Linked DNA regions of Homo sapiens: region 1 is linked to region 2. The links are contacts of gene promoters, found by promoter capture Hi-C in blood cells and fetal thymus (Javierre and others, 2016). All regions are on one chromosome and are shown on one strand. The core of a region is centred on a gene start or on the middle of the fragment in contact, and the rest is flanking DNA. Distances in the headings are between cores, read along the strand shown. Region 1 overlaps LOC107986178 (a long non-coding RNA gene). Region 2 holds the start of CLNK (cytokine dependent hematopoietic cell linker).

Region 1 (5,558 bases), core at 179-2,678, 1.0 Mb after region 2:
TTTATAAAAATTAAATTCCACAGTTCATCAAATGAATCTTTATAAAATTAAAATGTATCATTAGCACAGATATCTGAGAAAGGACTTTTTCCAGAAAAAAAGAACTCCTGCAATTTAAAAAAAGGGGAATGATACCTAAAGCCAATAAGCACATTACATTTTTTAATGTGCTCAGCATTATTAGTCAAAAGGGAAATACAAATTCAAATCAAATTATGATATCATACAAATCCACAGGAATAGCTAAAGCCACTACACCAAAATGCTGATGAGAATGTGGAGCTATAAAAACTGTTTTGTTTTTTTTTTTGAGAATGTAAAACATTATAAGCATTTTGCAGTACTCTGGTAGTTTCTTACAAAGGTAAATATTCAGTGATCAAACTATTCCACTACTAGTTATTTAAACAAGAGAAACCAAAACAAATACCACAATAAGACTTTTATGAGAATGTTCAGAGCAGCTTTATTCATAATATAAAAATAAAACTAAAAATAATTCAAATATCTATTAACAAGACAATGAATAAATAAAGGATGATATATTTATAAAATGAAATACCATTCAGGAATATCAATATTTGTATGAATGAAATGACATGGGTGAATCTTAAAAACGTGATGTTGAGCTAATACATTCTGACCAAAACAGTACGTATTGTAAGATTTCATTTATTTGAAATTCTATTATAGGCAAAGCTTAATTTATGGAGATAGAAATCAGAGTAGCAGTTGCCCCTGGGTGGGAGTTTGAAGCCAGACTGCCTTGGGATGTGGCAGAGAGTCCAGGCTTTCCGAGATGTTGCAAATGTTCTCTTCTGACTGGGGAGAGGTTATATGAGTATATGCATATGTTAAAACATATTGCAATGTAAATTTAAATTCTGTGTATTCCACTCTATGTAACTATATTGGTGTACTTACTCTGTCATAAGAGAATACCATAGACTGAGTGGGTTAAACAACAGAAATTTATTTTCTCACGGTTCTGGAAGTCAGAAGTTCAAGAACAAGGTGCCTTCAGAGTTGGTGTCTGATGAGGCCACTCTGTCTGACCTTTGCTGTGTGCACACTAGGGAGAGAGAGAGCTCTAGTATCTCTTCCTCTTCTTCTAAGAACACCAGTTCTACTCAGTTAGGGACCTACTTTTATGACCTCATTTTACCTCACCTTCTTAAAGACTGTACCTACAAAAATCAAAAAAGAAAAAGAAAAAAACTTTATCTTCAAAAAAGTCACACAGAGAGCTAGAGGTTCAACATATGAATTTAGGAGAGACACAATTTAGTTCATGGCAGTAACTTATAGACTTAAAATGGAAAAAAAAGGCAGCGAAAAGATACATTTATGTTCTAAGGGAAGTTTCATTTCTAGTTATATTAAAACTAAACATTATTATTATTATTTATTACTATTATTTGAGACAGTGTCTCACACTGTCGCCCAGGCTGAAGTACAGTAGTGCGATCTAGGCTCACTGCAGCCTCCTCCTCCTGGGTTCAAGCAATTCTCCCACATCAAGTTCCCTAGTGGCTGGGACTATAAGAATGCACCACCACACCTAGCTAATTTTTGTACTTTTTGGTAGAGACAGGATTTCACCATGTTAGCCAGGCTGGTCTCAAATTTCTGACCTTAGGTGATCCACCTGCCTTGGCCTCCCAAAGTGCTGGGATTACACACGTGAGCCTGGCCCTAAATATTAAAAATTAAAATACACTTTATTTCTAGTGATATAAAAATTAAAGTGATAAAACATCCAGGGTCACATATTTATCAAGTATAGTAACAAATGCTCTGAAGAATCAGTCAAAGGAAGCCGATTAAGTAGCTTGAATTCAACACAATTGAGCTGTTTCCACTATGCTGGTCTTACTGGCAATGACACTTTAGTTAAGAATGGAGTGAGGTAGATTACCTTTAAGTGAGGCTTTGATTTTGCCAACTTAATACAGAGCCGCATCTACGACCATAAATTATACCTCTCATTAATCCATTTGTCCTTCTGACATATTAGAATGATTTTTCAAGATTCCACATCAATCACACACCTTCATGTATTACATATGTGACAAATTACTATTTGATAAAATCTAATTTAACTCCATACAGTCAATGTTCCATAGGAAATAAGCTCTTGAAGGCTGGGCAAAATTGAGAAGCTTGAAATATTATTATATGTTTTTTTCCTTCTACTCCATGGGGATCATTGTGTAAAGACCCATAGGAAATGCTTTCCCAGATGTCCTCCCAGGAATATCTCCTGTACTACAACTGGAAAAAGTAATATTCTTTCTTCTATCTTTGCATTAAACATATATTGAGCATGTTTTCTCTTTCTAAGCACTGCCAGTAGGTGCTGGTCATAAGAAATAAACACAAGTAATTTTAGCCACGAGAACACTCACACACCCATCATTCCATGAGATGTGGTGGTTTCCAGCAGAGACAAGATTGTGAAACTGTGTCTTGGGCTAGTGAGGAAAATAGATGTGTGAACTTTGACTGTTTGAGTAAACTGCAGTTTACTTGGTAGAGGTAGAGTGAACTTTGACTGTTTGAGTAAACTGTAGTTTACTTGGTAGAGGTAGAGTCAGAAATGGCAAGAAAATCCCAGGTGCAAGGAATAGCAGTGAAGCTTTTAAGACTTAAAAAGAGCATGGAGCATTTCTAGAATTTGGTGGCTCTGTGTGCCTTTGTGGAAGACAAGATGGGAAAGGTAGGGAGAAGACAGAATATGTTGAACAGTGTTGAATATCATGCTTTCGTTCTTCTAGACTTTAGTGAGCTTAAGAGAATTTTTAAACTGAATTGTATCATTAGATTTTTCTCTCAGAAAGGCTGGAGTCCCAACTATAAGGAGGGTGGGGGGAAGGGATCTAGCTATAAAACCACTGTCATTGGGAAATTGGATTACATAGAGGCCAGCACTAAGGTTGTTTGCAATTATTTTATTGATTGCTTTAATACTTAGTAGACCACAAGGAATCAGCTAATGAGATAGTTACAAGGAGTATACAGAGAACACATTGACATCTCGATAATCTAAGAGCATATAACCCATTAGTGGAGGCAGACAGGTGAATGAGTACTTAAAAATATCAGGGGCATCTTGACATTTTTTCACGATCACTTTATTTCCAATGTCTTCGGTGAGCAAAATAATACCAACTTCTCACCTTTATTAGGCATTTTGTAATTTCCAAAGCATGTCCACATACATTTTTTCACTTGAGCTTCACAAAAGCCTCTGTAATGGAGGAAGTTATCCTAGGAAGAAACTGGGGCTTATACAGAGAAAATGATTTGCATAACAGCCTAAGAGTAGTCAGGAACAGAGTTGAAGCCAGAATGTAGTATTTATTCCAGTGCACTGCACAGCTTCTCTGTGAACTCTAGTTCAGTATTTACAATCATCTTCTTTATTTGTTTTGAATCTTCAAATCCTGATTGTTTACCCAGCAGGTCCATTGGCCCTCTCTGACCTCTCCTTTCCCATGGGTGTGCTGGTGACTGTCAGTCTTCTAGAGCTATACTGCTGTCCAGCCCTGCTCCATATTACTTTGTGTCTTCCCGATTCCTGTTTGTATCATCAGCCTCTGACCCACAACTTGAGCATCCCAAATCCTTGGGCCTATCTTGTGCTCCATTTGACTGTCTCCTTCTTACACCTGGACTTGACCTACTTGAAGAAAATTTTCAAGGGGTAGAGAATTTCTCCTCGAGATCAATATTTTGTTTTAACTCTAAGCCTAGGTACTCGGATTCAATCAGGTCTTCTTCTTTTGTTAATGGATCTAAAGTGCAATTGTATTATTTATAATCCTTGGCCATGCAATGTATCATTGGTCCATGGATTACACTTTTTCAAATTTTCAAAAAGTGATTACAATTAATTTGAAATAATGTCATAAACATCCATGAATCCACAGTTAAGGAAGAACATTAACAATAACTGTATAGGGTCCTCTTGCATTTATTTTTCTTATGTAACCCCATCTCAAGTAACCACCATCCAAAATTCTCTGTGCATCATTTCCTTGTTTTCCTATTTGTGTGTGGCATTTCAAGCAAGCACTTGTTTGTTAATAGTTGTGTTCAACTTTATTTTTAAAAAGGATTTACAGCATACATAATATTTTTCAAAGTATTTTTAAAATTTGAATATATTTTTGTAATTCATCTATACTGTTCATTATTATTATACCACATTTATTTTTAGGGCCATAATAGTAAATATACAACAGTTTATTCATCTCATATCCTCTCTATTGGCATTAGGTTGTTTATAGGTTTTTGTTAGTTTCAAAGATTTTGTGCATGATAGTGGACACATATCTGGTGAACCTGTTTAAAAGGTTCCCTTGGTTCTACATGTAGAAGTAAAATATGTACTTTTCTCAGTATTTGAATATACAAGTTTACAATACTCAGCTATTTTCTTAAGAGATTCAGCCAAGTTTACATATCAACCAGTAATAGATAAGATATGCTATAAATTTGTATCTTTCTAGCATCTGATATTGTCAGACTTTTGAAATTTCACTAACCAACTGACTGTAAAATATAGTAGCACATCATGGTCTTAAACTGCATCTTTCTCAACACTAATGGAGCTGGATATACCCTCATATTCTACAAACCATACATATTTTTATATTTTATGACAAACTTATTCAAACTGTCCATATTTCCCTGGGGTTTGTGTTTTTCTTTTAAACTTGTATAAGTTCTTTATATAGTCTTTGTTGTGTTTATTAAATATGCTTTCTCTCAGCTTCTAGCTGATCTCTGAAATAAATATGATGTACTGTATAAAGACTAGTTTGGAGAAAAACTGTGTCATAAATTTTAGTGTTAACACTTATTCAATGTGTGACCTGTGGTTATTCAGCACCTCTTGACTTAAGTTGTATGTTAAGTAGTCAAAAATTCATGCTGCTAGTGATAATTAGGAATCAAATAACATTGCTGAGCTCTTATTATATGCCAAACACTGTGCCAGGCCCTCGGTTAGGGAGAGGTGACACATTCTCTGACCTCGCCCATGAGTATGGTGTAATGAGAAGCGGATGAACAAACAATTATTGTGAACTGTAATAGTGTGACGCAGTTGATAAGCACAGGTGCTGTAGAAGCTTGAATCCAATCTAAAACAAACTTTGCAAGAAAAGGCTGGCAGCATGGCCATGTATTTATTCAAGCATACATGCATTCATTTACCAAACATACAATGAATACCAACTCTGTGTCAGATACTTTGCTAAGTACTATAAGTGTTATAAATGGAATTCACATGAATTAGAAAATGGCTAACTTTTGGGGAAAAGAGAAAATAAAGTGTTAAAGAACTCCCAGGTTTTTACCTGTGTGAACTGTGTTTATGCACAAGGGGTTGTCTCTACTTTAGGCTTTAATCTCACCTCCTATTACTATTAAAAGCTCATTGGTCCTACTAAATTATCAGCTTGTTAATAAAATTAATATGGAAGATTATATTTTTATTCTCAATTTTTTACTCCTTTTCTGCAATAAGATTAAACAATTGGGTCGCCTGA
Region 2 (5,054 bases), core at 2,555-5,054:
TGCCCATGAGTGAGGACGTCCTGATATATATATATATATAAATTTCTACAGGTAACCATGGGGCAGACTGGCTTTCCAGGTGCCTGCCAAGGCATCAGACCACCCATAGCTCAGCAAATCCAGCTTTTGAAATTACACAGCTCTGACTTAGTGCTCAACAAGCTACTGCCCAATATCAATTTAGTTTCCTGTGTACATTTGTCTCCTGGGAGGGAATATGCCAATCATCTGAACTTATAATTTGAGTACACTTGAACAAAATCACCAAAGATGGATACATAGGTCAAAGTACCAGAGTGAACTGACCTCTTGAGCTCCATCAACTCTGTGTGCCTTGGATACAATTAGCTTTCTGGGTCTTCAAAACTGATGGTGAAATGTGGTCCTTAGGCAGTCCACAAAAATTCAGCCCTCTCAGAGTTTGGGCCTAGGCTATTAGTCAGCCCTTATCTTTATCTTACACGAAATTGAACACAGAACCTACCACTGTTAAAGATTATCATCCAATCACATGGATATTAAATTTTCATGTTGTATCTAGACCTTTTGGCTCATCTTAGTTCAAATGACAAACCACAGTACCATTTAAACACAATAGGATTTTGATTCTCATGCATAAGTGTTTAGGAAGCAGTGTTTCAATTAGTATCACCAATGAAATTTAAAAGAAACAACTAAAATACATATTTTGCTAATGCTTGTGGTGTATCTGGGAGTTCCTTAAATGCTGTTGACTAGTTTGGAAGACAGTGATTGATGCCCTGATCATGAACCTGGGAACATCAGCAGGGTACTCATGGAGCACCATGCCGAGAGCAGGAGCTCGGGGCTCGGGTGGACCTGGGTCTCATTTCTGGCATATCCTCCTATTCATTGCATGAAATGGACAATGCATGGAGCCTGCCTGAACTTCAGAATCCGTTTTGTAAAGTAAGAATTAAGTACACCTACTTAAAAAGTGAGAAATGATGAGCGTTTCTTGTCTATCAGCAACACTTAAATGGTAACCTGTAAGTCATTGCTCTTTGGAAGACATGATTAAAATTAAGCAGAATAATCACAATAATGATTCCCAAATATTCTGCCCATAAGAGTAACAAAAAATAAATAATAAACACAAAAATTGGTCCTATGATAGCTCTATTCCACAATTCTGTTTGTGTGTGTGTATGTGTGTGTGTGTGTGTGTGATTTTTTCGTTATTGCTGATATCTAACCTGATGCTTCTCAGTTTTATTGGTAAAATCGTGAATGTTTGGTTTAATCTGTTAAAAATCATAAATAGAATTTAAATTCAGGTATTTATCTCTCTGGTTAGTAATTTAGCCGCTTTGAACACTTTATGTTTCTTTGTCATGCTAGGAGGGTAGGTACAGCCTAGAAGAACTCTGCAGAACTCAAGTCTTGGCAGATGTTGGCAGTAGCTTATGACAGTGGATATAACTGCTCCATGTACTAGGATTCAGAAAAGGATGCTTCTAGATCTCTGTCTGCTACTCTTCATGTGAAAATTTAGCCAGTTCCTGGCTATCTCTTCTGTGTCAGACACTGTGTGCACATTTGCTCTCACTCTCGAAGCAACACACAAAATGTATTCTTCCTCCCAGTTTCAAATTACACAACTCCAACAACAGCTAACTAAAGATCAGAGAGGTTAAGCTACTTACCTAAAGACGAACAGTAAAGTCACACACTAGATTCATGTCCATTTTTGACAATCTCAAAGCCCTGTTTCTTTCCATTTCACCATGTTGTCCTTCCTCATCTTTTCTAAGCCCCAGTTTCACCTTTTAAATGCTCTAATACGTGCTCTGCCTACTTCATTAAGCTGTTAAGATCATTCAAGAAGAAAATATGTATTCAAAGGCCTACATTACATAGGGCTATACAACTGTGGAATATTACCATTCTCTAATGAGATTATTAAAATACAATATTTGTAAACTTATGTGTATTAATCAATTCTATGTTGATTGTGGTCATGTTTTAAGAATAAAATCAGAACTGATTTGGAGTGAGGAAAGGAAAGTAATGGAGAAAGAAGTCAACACTTACTGAATACTTGCTAAGTGTTAAGAATGCACCATATTTCACGTAATATAAATATTATATTATTGAGGCTAAATAATTGTCAATACAAGTCTTATGAGATCTTACTTTATTAAAAAGGGGGAGGAAATGAGGATCATATATGAAACAACATCCCTGGTCCAAGTGGCAGAGTCAGGATCCTCACCATTTTGATCAGGCGTCAAATCCTACAGTCTTTCTAAGACAGCACCTGACTCATGGCAAAGTGATCGAGAAACAGAATCCCCTGGTGTTCAGGCCAGAGCTGGCCAGATGGTACAGAAGATTATAAGCACTGGCTTTCAAATGGTCTTGCCTATACAGTCATCTGAGAGGGCTTGTTGGGAATAACAAAGAAATACTACCATTTAGATGGTTGGTGTCAGAGACCACCCAGGAGTGAGTTTAGGGATGAGCTCTGTGAAACTGCAAACTAACACTGTTCACCATTCCAATCAGTCAGCCAGGAAAATCAGTTTCCTTCTGAATTCTGTTACTGACATTAGTGACTGAACAACCTTGCACATATTACTTAGAGAACTCAAGTTCTTCACCTGTAAACCAGGGAAAGTAATAGCCAGCTCTCTAGGTCAGCAGGAGCTGAAGGTAAGTAAATGCCAGTTGCCATTCCTACTTCTCTAGGGCATACTGTATCTTAAGCTTCTTAGAGGATTTCTGAAGCGCTGTCATTTCTCTGGTAGGCCTTCAATTAACCAGCTCTACCATCGTCTTCTTGATATTTGAAATGATTATTCCTGGTGGTTTGGGAGGCCCCTGGAAATCCAAAGAACAACACTATTGAGGAGCTGCGCCACAGTATAGACAGAGACAGCCAGAGAAATAGCCATGTAGGTAATAGACAAGTAATACTCATAACAGAGAAGCCAAATGAGTAACACTGGTGTAAAGTAATAAAAACAGTATTGATAAAAAGTTCAGGCATATCGACACCTTTTAAAATCAAAGTATCCATATTTTGATGATAGTTATTTTCTTTTCTGTCTCATTCCAGTTTGTTTGCTTTATCCAATAAAAGCCTGGTAGAGATGACTCCCGGCACTTTTCAAGAGTAAGAATTTAACCCCAACTTTAACCTCACTTTTGAGCTCCTTACTCTTGTGAGTGGAAGGATGTCTGCGTGATTCCAAAGTCTAAGTCTCCTCTACACCAAAGCAGAAAGAAAATCGTATTACTTTAGAAAATGTTAAAAATATATTTCCACAGGGCTCCAGGAGTTAACTTATACTTTGAATGACCTACTTTGAATGGAGGCTTTCTTTCTAGAGGGCTTACTTAATGAAGGTCAGCCAGGAAAGCCAGCCATGGGGCCTGGTCTTTAGATTTCAGTTGCAAACAGTCGGGGAGTCCAAGCTCCAGGAAAAGAAGATTGAAAACATTTAGTCTTTTAATTTTCTGTGGGTAGGTATCCTGATTCTTTCTCCCAAAAGAATGAAAGGATCTTTAACAATTGAGTTAAGGGCTTTCTTCTTGCTCCTTTGATGCTATATATAAGGCCCAGACTTCCACTTTAGAAACACATTTTTACTTGCTGCTCAGGTCTTTCCTGATGATCATTTATGACAAGGAGATGACCATGAGATCCTCACTCAGAAGAACTGGCCTAATGAGTTTACCTGAACAGCGTGGAGAGCACCAAGGGATCTAGGCTGAGGTGTCCGTCTCCTGTGAGGAGGGGCGGCAGTGCAGAGACCTTGGGGCACTGGAAATTAGTAAGGCGGTGGGTTGAATTCTTCTCGATGCTAAGCAGTGCCCTTCAGCAGAAAACCTCCTGATAGGTCCGTTTTAGACTTGGTTTCCTGTGAAATGCAGCCACAGACCTGAGAGGTCTGACCTGAGGGCTGGCAGGACTTCCTCTTCTTAGGCTGGAGTGCAATACGTGAAGCTTTCAGAGGCTGAAATCTTCCAATGCAAAGGGTGTTTTTAAAGACACACGGTGTCCTTATGTGGCACTTCATAGTTACCAGAACACAATAAAAGGAACTGCTGGGCAACACTCAAGCATGGAAGGTGGGTTTTGCGAGTCTCACTTTATATGAATAGTGGACATTAACTATCATCTTTTGGCTTAATTTTGCAATGGCTTCCTGAGACCATCCCAGACACATGGACCAGGTGTTAAGGAAAGAACCTGGGAACTAAAGGAGAAATGCCTGCCTCTTATTCTTGCTGTATTAATTATTAGCTATAGGATCTTGGGCACTTTGAAGTTTATTTCTCAAGTAGTTTGAGTGATAATAATATTTGTATTTTAGAAACTTTTTTAAAAAATGAGGGATAATTGAGGATTATATTTCCTTCATTGAGGAAATGATATTTCCTCAATTGTGATGGAAGGATAATATTTATATTTTAGAAGTATTTCAATAAATAAACAAAATATTGTAAATAAAGGCATGCAGTAATGTTTGGGCACATATCAGTTGCTTAATACATTTTCTTTCGGCCTTAATCTTGGTCCATTTAAGCTGATCTTGCCGAGTGCCTGTTTCCTCTTCTGGAGACTTGACATTCTAGTTTTATATAAATTGATGTTGAATTCCATAACAAACTCCAACATTATTTACAATAAATTCAAAGGTAGAAGTTTATATTTTCTTGGGTAAATAACTCTGGTTTTGACTTAACAGACACCCCAAGGAAAACATGAAAATAAGCACTCTTTGAATGCTAATTGTGAGTCAGTTACATTGCTAAGCAACTTGCAAGCATTATCCTCCTTAATCTTACTAATAACCATGTAAGGAACATATGTAAAATCCCATTTTGTAATTGTGAAAACTGAAGACTAGGGAGACTCGAGTAGTTTAACCACTTTATTAATTAGCTTTTGCTGCATTAGGGGCTTAAAGCAGTAACCACTTTATTTAGTTCATAATTGTGTGTGTCACTTGCTCACTTCTTTTGGTCTGGACCCATATTAATTTTCTGGGGTTTTCATAACAAAGGACTGAGCCCTGAGTGGC

Evidence for each region. Contacts are between HindIII fragments. The CHiCAGO score rates a contact against its expected background, and 5 or more counts as called.
Region 1: a contact is called between a fragment that was not itself captured here and the fragment with the promoter of CLNK in region 2, in 1 of 17 cell types (M1 macrophages). The highest score is 5.3, in M1 macrophages.

What each region holds. Positions count from the first base shown.
Region 1 is chr4:11,727,281-11,732,838 of GRCh38, forward strand. The region is part of intron 2 of LOC107986178 (a long non-coding RNA gene); the gene reads left to right. Among named protein-coding and RNA genes, the nearest start is that of LINC02360, 39 kb to the right of the region's middle. The HindIII fragment of the contact is 1,463 bases long and covers 698-2,160 here.
Region 2 is chr4:10,680,964-10,686,017 of GRCh38, forward strand. It overlaps CLNK (cytokine dependent hematopoietic cell linker), which reads right to left and starts at 3,805. Exons shown (of 19, transcript NM_052964.4): 1 at 3,705-3,805. The HindIII fragment of the contact is 1,243 bases long and covers 2,729-3,971 here.